3 separate regions of the Homo sapiens genome follow, and regions 1 and 2 are each linked to region 3. Evidence: promoter capture Hi-C in 16 types of primary human blood cells and fetal thymus (Javierre and others, 2016). All regions are on one chromosome and are shown on one strand. Each heading gives the region's core, a stretch centred on a gene start or on the middle of the fragment in contact. The rest is flanking DNA. Distances are from core to core; before and after follow the strand shown.

Evidence for each region. Contacts are between HindIII fragments. The CHiCAGO score rates a contact against its expected background, and 5 or more counts as called.
Region 1: the fragment with the promoter of MEIS3 here is called in contact with the fragment with the promoter of NOP53 in region 3 in 2 of 17 cell types (M0 macrophages and activated CD4 T cells); the score reaches 5.4 in M0 macrophages.
Region 2: a fragment that was not itself captured here is called in contact with the fragment with the promoter of NOP53 in region 3 in 5 of 17 cell types (M1 macrophages, endothelial precursors, naive CD4 T cells and 2 more); the score reaches 5.5 in M1 macrophages.

What each region holds. Positions count from the first base shown.
Region 1 is chr19:47,418,143-47,421,172 of GRCh38, forward strand. MEIS3 (Meis homeobox 3) reads right to left here and starts at 1,385. Exons shown (of 13, transcript NM_001301059.2): 1 at 928-1,385. The coding sequence starts at 939. RefSeq lists enhancers at 1-471, 472-1,465. The HindIII fragment of the contact is 31,601 bases long and covers 1-3,030 here.
Region 2 is chr19:47,473,867-47,476,688 of GRCh38, forward strand. It overlaps KPTN (kaptin, actin binding protein), which reads right to left. Exons shown (of 12, transcript NM_007059.4): 11 at 2,666-2,822; 12 at 1,284-1,678. The coding sequence ends at 1,550. Among named protein-coding and RNA genes, the nearest start is that of SLC8A2, 3.4 kb to the left of the region's middle. The HindIII fragment of the contact is 1,285 bases long and covers 668-1,952 here.
Region 3 is chr19:47,744,181-47,747,157 of GRCh38, forward strand. NOP53 (NOP53 ribosome biogenesis factor) reads left to right here and starts at 1,366. Exons shown (of 13, transcript NM_015710.5): 1 at 1,366-1,603; 2 at 2,787-2,851. The coding sequence starts at 1,380. RefSeq lists enhancers at 1,249-1,638, 2,059-2,559. The HindIII fragment of the contact is 20,370 bases long and covers 1-2,977 here.

The sequences.
Region 1 (3,030 bases), core at 135-2,634, 330 kb before region 3:
GCGTCCTGTCGTCACAGAACCATGCACCTGGGAAGCCAGGGGCACCTTCCTCTCATCAGGTCAAATCCCTTCCTCAGTGATGAAGACACGGAGGCTCAAAGAGGCAGCAGGACTCGCACGGGAAGAGGCTAGAACGTTCCTGCCTCGGACCCTCGCCTGGCTGGGCACCCTGGTTCTGTGTGTCCCACTCTTTCCCTCTCCCTCTTCTCCTAACTTCTCCTGTGCCCTGAAGTTGAATCCAACTGCTCCCCGCTGCTCAAGGCACTCTCACCAAAAGCGGTCCTCACAGCCTACCCGGAACCCCCAAAACGGGCGCGCGCCTCCTCCCCTGTCTTCTATCCCCGTTCCCATCCCCAGGGAGACAGGCTCCGTGGGGCCAGCAGCCTGGTGAGACCACCTCTCCCACCCCTGTCCCACTCCTAGCCCTGGAGAGGCAGGGGCGGCTTGGAACAAAAGTAGAGCGAAGGGAAGGACGGAGGAGAGCAGAAAAAAGGGGGGACGGTGAGGTGCGGGCGGCTGAGATGGAGGAGGAAGCCCAGGAACAGAGGAGAGAGACTGCGGGTGGGGGAGGGCAGAGAGAGGGGGATAGAGAGGCAGAAAGAGGGGGGAGACCAGGGACAGAGAGAGGGGGACAGAGAGGCAGAAAGGAGGAGGAGAGTGGGGCAGACAGAGGGGGACAGAGGGGCAGGGAGAAGGAGAAGCTAAACGATGGGGAGGAGGCGAGGCCGAGGGCCAGGAAGAGACACTTGGGGGCAGAGAGGGGGCACACAGGGACTGGGAGACCCAGGGGCGGAGGGAGGGGCAGAGAGAGAGCGAGGTGGTGTAGAGGACGGATGGGCTAATGGGGGCCAGCGCCGGAGAGTGGGGGATGCAGGGACAGGGGGTGCGGAAGCGGCCGGGACGCGGGGTCCCCGCCCCGAGACCTACCCTCCGGGCCATGGGCTGAGGCCGGCGGCAGCTCCTGGGTCCCTCCAGAGCCTGGCCGCGGGGGAGGGCGCAGCCCGGGGCCGCAGCCCCTGACGGCCCGCGGTGTTGACGCCAGGGGGTGGGCAGGAGGCCAGGCGCGCGCCCCCCCACCCCCGCCGCCGTCAGCGGCAGGCGCCGGGCCGGGTGGGGACTCCGCGCATGGACCCCGGCCCCCGCCCCCAGCGGGGGTCACGGCCAGGAGCGCATCGCCGCCGGGGCGGGGGCAGCAGGCGCAGGCGGGGCGCCCGAGGCCCCCTCCTCTGGGCCCCCCCCGTCCCTTCCCCGGCTCTGGAGGGAATCGAACCGTCCCGAGACGGACACACCGGGGACCGCAGGGGGCGGGGGGCGGCCCGGGGCGACGGAGGGTCCGGCGGCGGCTCAGGGGTGCTGGCAGCCGCGCTCCCCGTTCCCGGTCTCTCCCTTGTCTTGTGGAAATTAAACAGAACCACCAAGGAGCGGGATAGGGGATGAGCCAGAGTGAGCCTGCAGAGCTACAGCACGAGGGATTGGGGTTAGGGCAGCAGCAGCACTTCCGGTGGGAGTCGGGGAGGGGCAGGCTGTGGGGGGAGGAGAGGAAGAGACCGCGGCCCTGGTGCCCCCAGGCCCCTCCTCTCCTACCCAGGGCTGGGGTTCCTGCTCCGGGTTTCTCAGTCTCCCTCTTTCCCAGTCTCTCTCTCCTTGTCTCTCTCTGTCTCCGCTTCTCCCGTCCTTTCTCTCCTCTGGCTCTCTGTTCTCCGAGCCCCCTGGACACACCACGGACCCCCTCCCTGGCCATCTCCAGGGGTCACGTGGGAATCTGGAGTCTGGTCCCACCGTAGGCTCTCCCCTCTCTGAGGCTCGATTCCCCCTCTGCAGGATGGGCAGTGCGCTGGGGGCGGCGGGGGTGGGCTGTGGATAACGGAGAAACAGTTAAGCTAGAGGGTGCCAGGACTCAGGGTCTTGGCTGAGTCTGGGGGTCCCCATGCCGGCGGGCTCTGCCCCCGTGGCTGTCCTGCGGTGAGGCTGGCCGTTTAAGGCAGTCCGAGGGGAAGGGTCTGGAGGCCTTGCCTTTCCTCAAGGCCGGCGCACCCCAGATAGGGGTTTTGGAGCAGAAAATTAATTTAAATCACTTTTTAATTAAAGACACAAGGCCCTTTGGTCTGCTCCACCCCCACCTCACCCTCAGCCAAGACTTGGGGTGAGGGATGCAAGGGTTAGGAGTCTCTGGCTCTATTTGCTTTTTTGGGGGGTGGTGCATGCTAAGGTCCCCTTAGCCCAGGCTGATTCTGAAACCTAGAGGAGCAAGTGCGGCCTCATCTGACGGCCAGTGGTGGGGGGCGTGGACAGAGCAGGAAGGGAGGGAGGGGGCACCTGGGATGGGGATGGGGCCTAACTGGAGTGGGGAGGGAGGTAACTCCAGTGACGGTGTGATTCAGAGAGAGAGAGAGACAGAGACAGACGCGGGTGGGAGGAGAGAGAGAGAGAGGTGCAGACAGAGTGAGACAGACAGGAGGGGGAGGGAGTGGGGGACAGGAGCTCCAATAGAGACCCTGGAGTCGTCCCTGCCACCCCCAAAACAAGAGCAGGGGGCTTGGACTCTGAAGCATAAATCTTTCTAATTAAAGAAAGAGACGAGCTGTTGGGAAGGGAGAAATAAGTGTGTGGGAGAGAAATTGATTGGGGGAGGATGGAGGATGCCGGCGGGGGACGGAGGGAGCAGGGGGGAGGCTCCGGCTTTCTGAGGCTCTTCCTCCAGTCTTTCCCTCTGTCTGTCCATCCGTCTGTCTGTCCGTCTCTGTCTCTCGCTCTCTCTCTCTCTCTCTCACACACACACACACACACACACACACACACTCTCTCTCTCTCTCTCTCTCTCTCTCTCTCTCTTCCTGGCTGTCTCCCTTAAATAGTCCTGGGACCCTTCTGTTCCCAGGGGGAGGGAGCAGGTGGCGGCCAGGCCTGGTGCTGGAGCGGGGGTGCCTGTGTCACTGCGTCGCGGCTGCCTGTCGGCTCTTCGAGGGTGTGCTTGGGCCTCCCTGTGACAGTGTCTGGAAGCGTCTTCCCTGCCCGGCTGAGTGGCTCCCT
Region 2 (2,822 bases), core at 60-2,559, 270 kb before region 3:
CTCCATAGCGGGAGGTAGACAGATGGCCAAAATGACTACGGTGTCTGCCTCTCCCCTGAACCCCCAGGAAGCAGATGTCCTGCCCAACCCCTGCCCCCAGCCTGGATACGGCCCAGGGAATGATCATCCCCCAACCCTGCTGACCCAGATTCTATTCCTGGCCTGCAGTGGACGGAGGACAAGACTTCCATCGTTCCCACCCTCCACTGATCCTAGAGACACAGGCCTCTGATTCCTTCTCCTGGTAATACAGAACGGAGCACAGGAGGCCGGGCTCAGTGACTCACGCCTGTCATCCCAGCACTTTGGGAGGCCGAGGCGGGCAGATCACCTGAGGTCAGGAGTTTGAGACCAGCCTGGCCAACACGGTGAAACCCTGTCTCTACTAAAAATACAAAAAAATTAGCCAGGCGTGGTGGCGTACGCTTGTAATCCCAGCTACTCAGGAGGCCGAGGCAGGAGAATCGCTTGAACCAGGAGGTGGAGGTTGCAGTGAGCCGAGATCGCGCCACTGCACTCCAACCAGTGCATCAGAATGAGACTCCGTCTCTCACACACACACAAAAGACCACAGGCAAGGCAACTCCTACCACCACAGGCTGGGAGAATCAGGCTTGTCTCCCACTCCCTGGGCCCCCAACCCCCTAGGCTTTTTAGATTAGGTCTAAGCTTAGCCCTTTCCAGCATGGTCTAGCCTGGGTCTTCTCCCTGGGTCTTGCCTCAGTGCTCTCCACTGGGAACTAAGCTCACTTTCTGCTGGGGTTTAACCCTGGCCCCTTGCACAGGATCTGGCCATAGCAATTTTTTGTTGGGGTCCAACCTCAGCATTATTCATAGGGAGTCTAGCCTCAGACCCTCTGCTACAAATGGACCACTGCTTTCCCACAGCAGCCCTTTCTACCCACAAGTTTTCCTCTAAACGCTCAAGCTCCTTACCTTTCCACTGGGATCTACCCTTAGATCTAGATCTTTCCACTGGGGTCTCATGTCAGCTCTCTCCACTAGGGTCTAACCTCAGCTCTTTCCCTTCCATTTTACGTAATCTGTTCCACAGTGGTTTAACTTTTAGCCTTTCTGCTAAGGTGTCACCCCATTTCTTTCTCTTGGGTTCTACCCTGGGATCTAACCTCCGGCCTGTATCTGGGTCTAGCCTTGGATTCCCTCTCCCCCAAATCCCTCTCCCTCAATTCCTCTGGGTGAATCCAGCATCCAACACAGAGCCAGGCATACAGCAGGTGCTCACCAAATGCTTGCCGAAAAAAAGAATCGAGACAACTGGGAAATGATGTTCTTCTGGACGTATAAATAACCATCAGGTGGCCAATTCTCATCCAGAGTGGACAGGGTGGAATGGGATCATCCCTGCTTTCAAATAGGGACATTGACGTACAGAGAGAGGAGTGGGTTAGCTGGGGCCCCAGGGCACAGCTTCACCACCCTGGGGAGGTCTGGGGAGAGCATCCTGTCCTTCAGGACACCCCCCACCAGCGGCTGGAGGTGAGCACGCCATGAGTCGCCCCAGGTCTGGGAAGAGTGGGTGCATGGGTGCTTAAGAGGCTGCATTCTCAGCAGGCCCTGCACCTGCCCCGTCCTCCAACCCCTGTAGCCGACGTCTCCTCTGCTCCACTTGATGTCGAAGCCGGGTCAAGACCAGCTCTGAGGCCTGAATCAGGCTGTGCTGTGGGGAACAAGAGAATGAGGGGGATGGAGCTGAGGAAGAGCTGTGGGACCACAGCGGGACCGTCTGGAGTGAAGCAACTCCAAAGGCCAGGAGCTCGGCCCACGTGGGAGGGCAGAGAGCAGACCACAGTGTGTGGGATGGGAATGGGCCTCTGTGACAGGGGTGAAGGGGAGTGGCCTTAAGCGAATTTCTAGTGGGAGGGACAAAGCCTAGACCCAAATGTAAGGAAGTGAGATTAGAAGGAATATAAAAGGAATATAAAATTTAGCCAAGCTTGGTGGCAGGTGCCTGTCATCCCAGCTACTAGGGAGGCTGAGGCAGGACAATCACTTGAACCTGGAAGGTGGAGGTTGCAGTGAACTGAGATCACACCACTGCACACCAGCCTGGGAAACTGCACTCCAGCCTGGGAAACAGAGCAAGACTCTGTCTCGAAAACAAACAAACAAACAAAAAAACCAAAAAAAAAAAAAAAAAGGCCAGGGTGTGGTGGCTCACACCTGTAATCCTAGCACTTTGGGAGGCCGAGGTGGGCGGATGACTTGAGGCCAGAAGTTTGAGACTAACCTGGGCAACATGGTGAAACTCCGTCTCTACTAAAAATACAAAAATTAGCTGGGCGTGGTGGCGTGCGGCTGTATTTCCCAGCTGCTTGAGAGGCTGAGGCATGAGAATTGTTTGAACCTGGGAGGTGGAGGTTGCAGTGAGCTGAGATCGAGTCACTGCGCTAGAGCCTGGGTGACAGAGCAAGACTCTGTCTCAAAAATAAAATAATAAATAAATAAATAAATCTCCTTCACCAGGCCGGTGCCCCCACCCCAGCTGCTGTGAGCGCTCACAGCTGCCCCTTTCTCCTGGGAGTTGTCCTGACTGGTAGGAACTGCCTCCCTGAAATGAGTTCCTCCCTCCCCCAGGAGGAGGCCTGCACCCCCTGCTCGAAACTGCTGAGGTCGACTCCCCTCCCACCCCAAGAGCTGGGGATACCTGCAGGATGTGCACGCCCTTCAGGGAGACCACGGCAAGCTCCTGCAGCCCATCCCCGGTCAGGTCCACGTGAGCCATGGCCAGCAGGGGACTGGAGAAGCTCCGCTGCCACAGCAGATGGAACCCGTGCTGGGCCTCAGGAAGCCCCGACTCTGGG
Region 3 (2,977 bases), core at 116-2,615:
CTAATTTTTAAATTTTTGGCAGACACAGGATCTCACTATGTTGCCCAGGCTGGTCTTGAATTCCTGGGCTCAAGCGATCCTCCTGCATCGGCCTCCCAAAGTGCTGGGATTAGAGGCGTGAATCACCACGCCCTGCCATGGATCCCTTTGAATGGCTGCCAGGGCCCAAGAGCCTCTGAGCTTCCTTCCTTATTTGTAAATGACAAAGATGAGTTGATTCTAAGATGAAGCCTCAGAGGGCAAGGCAGTAACAATAGCTAACACTCAGATGCCAGACGCAGCCTTAAGCGCTTTACATATGTTTAATCTTCTGCATGACTTATGACGCAGATGTACTGTTATCATCTTTATTTTACAGATGAGGAAACTGAGGCACAGTGAAGTAGCCCGCTCAAGATGAATGATTCTGAGTCTGCACTTCTAGGGTCCTAAAAGTGTATGTTTCTAACATTCCTCTAATGTTCTGTGCTTCCAACTTTGATATTCCGAAAGTTACTTGATTTCTAAGATCCTAGGATTGGAACATTTGAGAGGACAAAACTTCTGAGATTGGAATGTGTGTTGTGCGGAATCTGCCACTGACGGTTCTGACTTTCTAAGAAAACGAGATTAAAAAATAATCAGGCCGAGCATGGTGGCTCACATCTGTAATCCTAGCATTTTCGGAGGCTGAGGAGGGAGAATCACTTGAGCCCAGGGGTTCAAGACCAGCCTGGACAACATAGTGAGACCTTTGTCTCTTAAAAAAAAACACACACACATCAGTTTGGACCGGGAGTGGTGGTGTGAGCCTGTAATCCCAGCGCTTTGGGAGGCCTAGGAAGGAGGATCACTTGAAACCAGATGTTTGAGACCAGCCTGGGCAACATGGGGAGGCTCCATTTCTACAAAAAATAAAAATAAAAAATTAGCCAGGTGCGGATGCACCCTTCTGTGGTCGCAGCTACTCGGGAGGCTGAGGTAGGAGAATCCCTGAGCTTAGGAGTTGGAGGCTGCAGTGAGCCATTACCCTTCCACTGCACTCCAGCCTGGGGGCAACAAAGTGAGACCTTATCTATTAAAGAAAAAAATCAGTTTGAGCAAAGACCCCAGGCGGCCGGGAAAGGTGTTCGCTTAAGGGCGAAAGCTAAGAACCTGCAACCTTCCCGTCTCTTTCCTACCACCCGCCGCCGTTAGGAATCTTCAGATCCCGCTGTAAAGAATGGAGGAAGGAGGAGCCATTTATCCTTTACCAAGATGGCAGCCTCCTGGCAACTCCAGTCACTTTATAAATATGGCTGCCACAGGAAGTACGTCACGGAAGAGGGTGGGAAATCTGCGCGCGCACGCTGCAAAGGGGCTTTTTGGGACGCCAGTGGCTGAGTTCTTCCTTTGACAAGATGGCGGCAGGAGGCAGTGGCGTTGGTGGGAAGCGCAGCTCGAAAAGCGATGCCGATTCTGGTTTCCTGGGGCTGCGGCCCACTTCGGTGGACCCAGCGCTGAGGCGGCGGCGGCGAGGCCCAAGAAATAAGAAGCGGGGCTGGCGGCGGCTTGCTCAGGAGCCGCTGGGGCTGGAGGTTGACCAGTTCCTGGAAGACGTGCGGCTACAGGAGCGCACGAGCGGGTACGTTGGGCGGGACTTCCGGGAGGTGGGACGGTTCCTGCGCCCAGGTGCAAGGCCAGGCGTGCTTGCGTGGACTCGTCGGGGGTCGGGGGTCGGGGGTCGGGGGTTGGGGGCTCCTGTCCCGGGGACCGCCGAGGAAATGGAGAGCATGGGCAGGGGACTCAGCATGGGAAGCTGGAGAGCTTGATAGAGTTACCAGATTTAGCAGATAAATATACAGGACGCTCAATTAAATTTGGATTTTAGGTAAACAATGAATAATTTTTAGCATAAATACGTTCCATGCATCCACCTTAGCTTGCTGTTTTCTAAATATGTGTGTGTGTGTATGTATATATGTGTGTGTATATATATGTGTATATGTGTGTATATATATATGTGTATATGTGTGTGTGTATATATATGTATATATATATGTTTTTCAGACGGAGTCTCGCTCTATCGCCCAGGCTGGAGTAGGCGCGATCTCAGCTCACCGCAACCTCCGCCTCCCAGGCTCAAGCGATTCTCCTGCCTCAGCTCCTTAGTAGCTGGGATTACAGGCGGGCGCCACCACGCTCGGCTATTTTTCTTTTCTTTTCTTTTTTCTTTTTTTTTTGAGACGGAGTCTTTCTCTGTAGTCCAGGCTGGAGTGCAATGGCACGATCTCGGCTCACTGCAACCTCTGCCTCCTGGGTTCAAGTGATTCTCCTGCTTCAGCCTCCCAAGTAGCTGGGATTACAGGCATGCACCACCACGTCCGGCTAATTTTTGTATTTTTAGTAGAGACAGGGTTTTGCCATGTTACAGGCCAGGCTGGTCTTGAACTCCTGACCTTAGGTGATCCACCCGCCCCGGCCCCCTAAGGTGCTAAGATTACAGGTGTGAGCCACCACACCCAGCCTAATTTTTGTATTTTTAGTAAAGGCAGGGTTTCACCATGTTGGCCAGGCTGCTCTTGAACTCCTGACCTCAGGTGAGCCACCCGCCTGGGCCTCCCAAAGTGCTGGGATTACAGGCGTGAGCCACTGCGCCTGGCAGTCCTTCCTAAATACTAAGTTCTGTAAACTGCTGGGCGAAGCCTTAGCCTGGAAGAGTCCGGTGGCGGGACTTGACTAAGCGGAAGATGAAGGCTGGACCTGCCAGGTTAAATCTCTTTCCTCTCCAACATCTCTGGCTGATGTTCTGCATTTCTGTCCCCCAGTGGCTTGTTGTCAGAGGCCCCAAATGAAAAACTCTTCTTCGTGGACACTGGCTCCAAGGAAAAAGGTGAGGAGAGGCTTTTGTGGTGTGGAATGGCGGTTATTCATTGTTAGTCAGCTTACGGTAGCCTCTGAGATCTGTGTTAATGATGTGGCTTGGAAGGCAAATATCTGCGGAAACAGGTCAACCTTA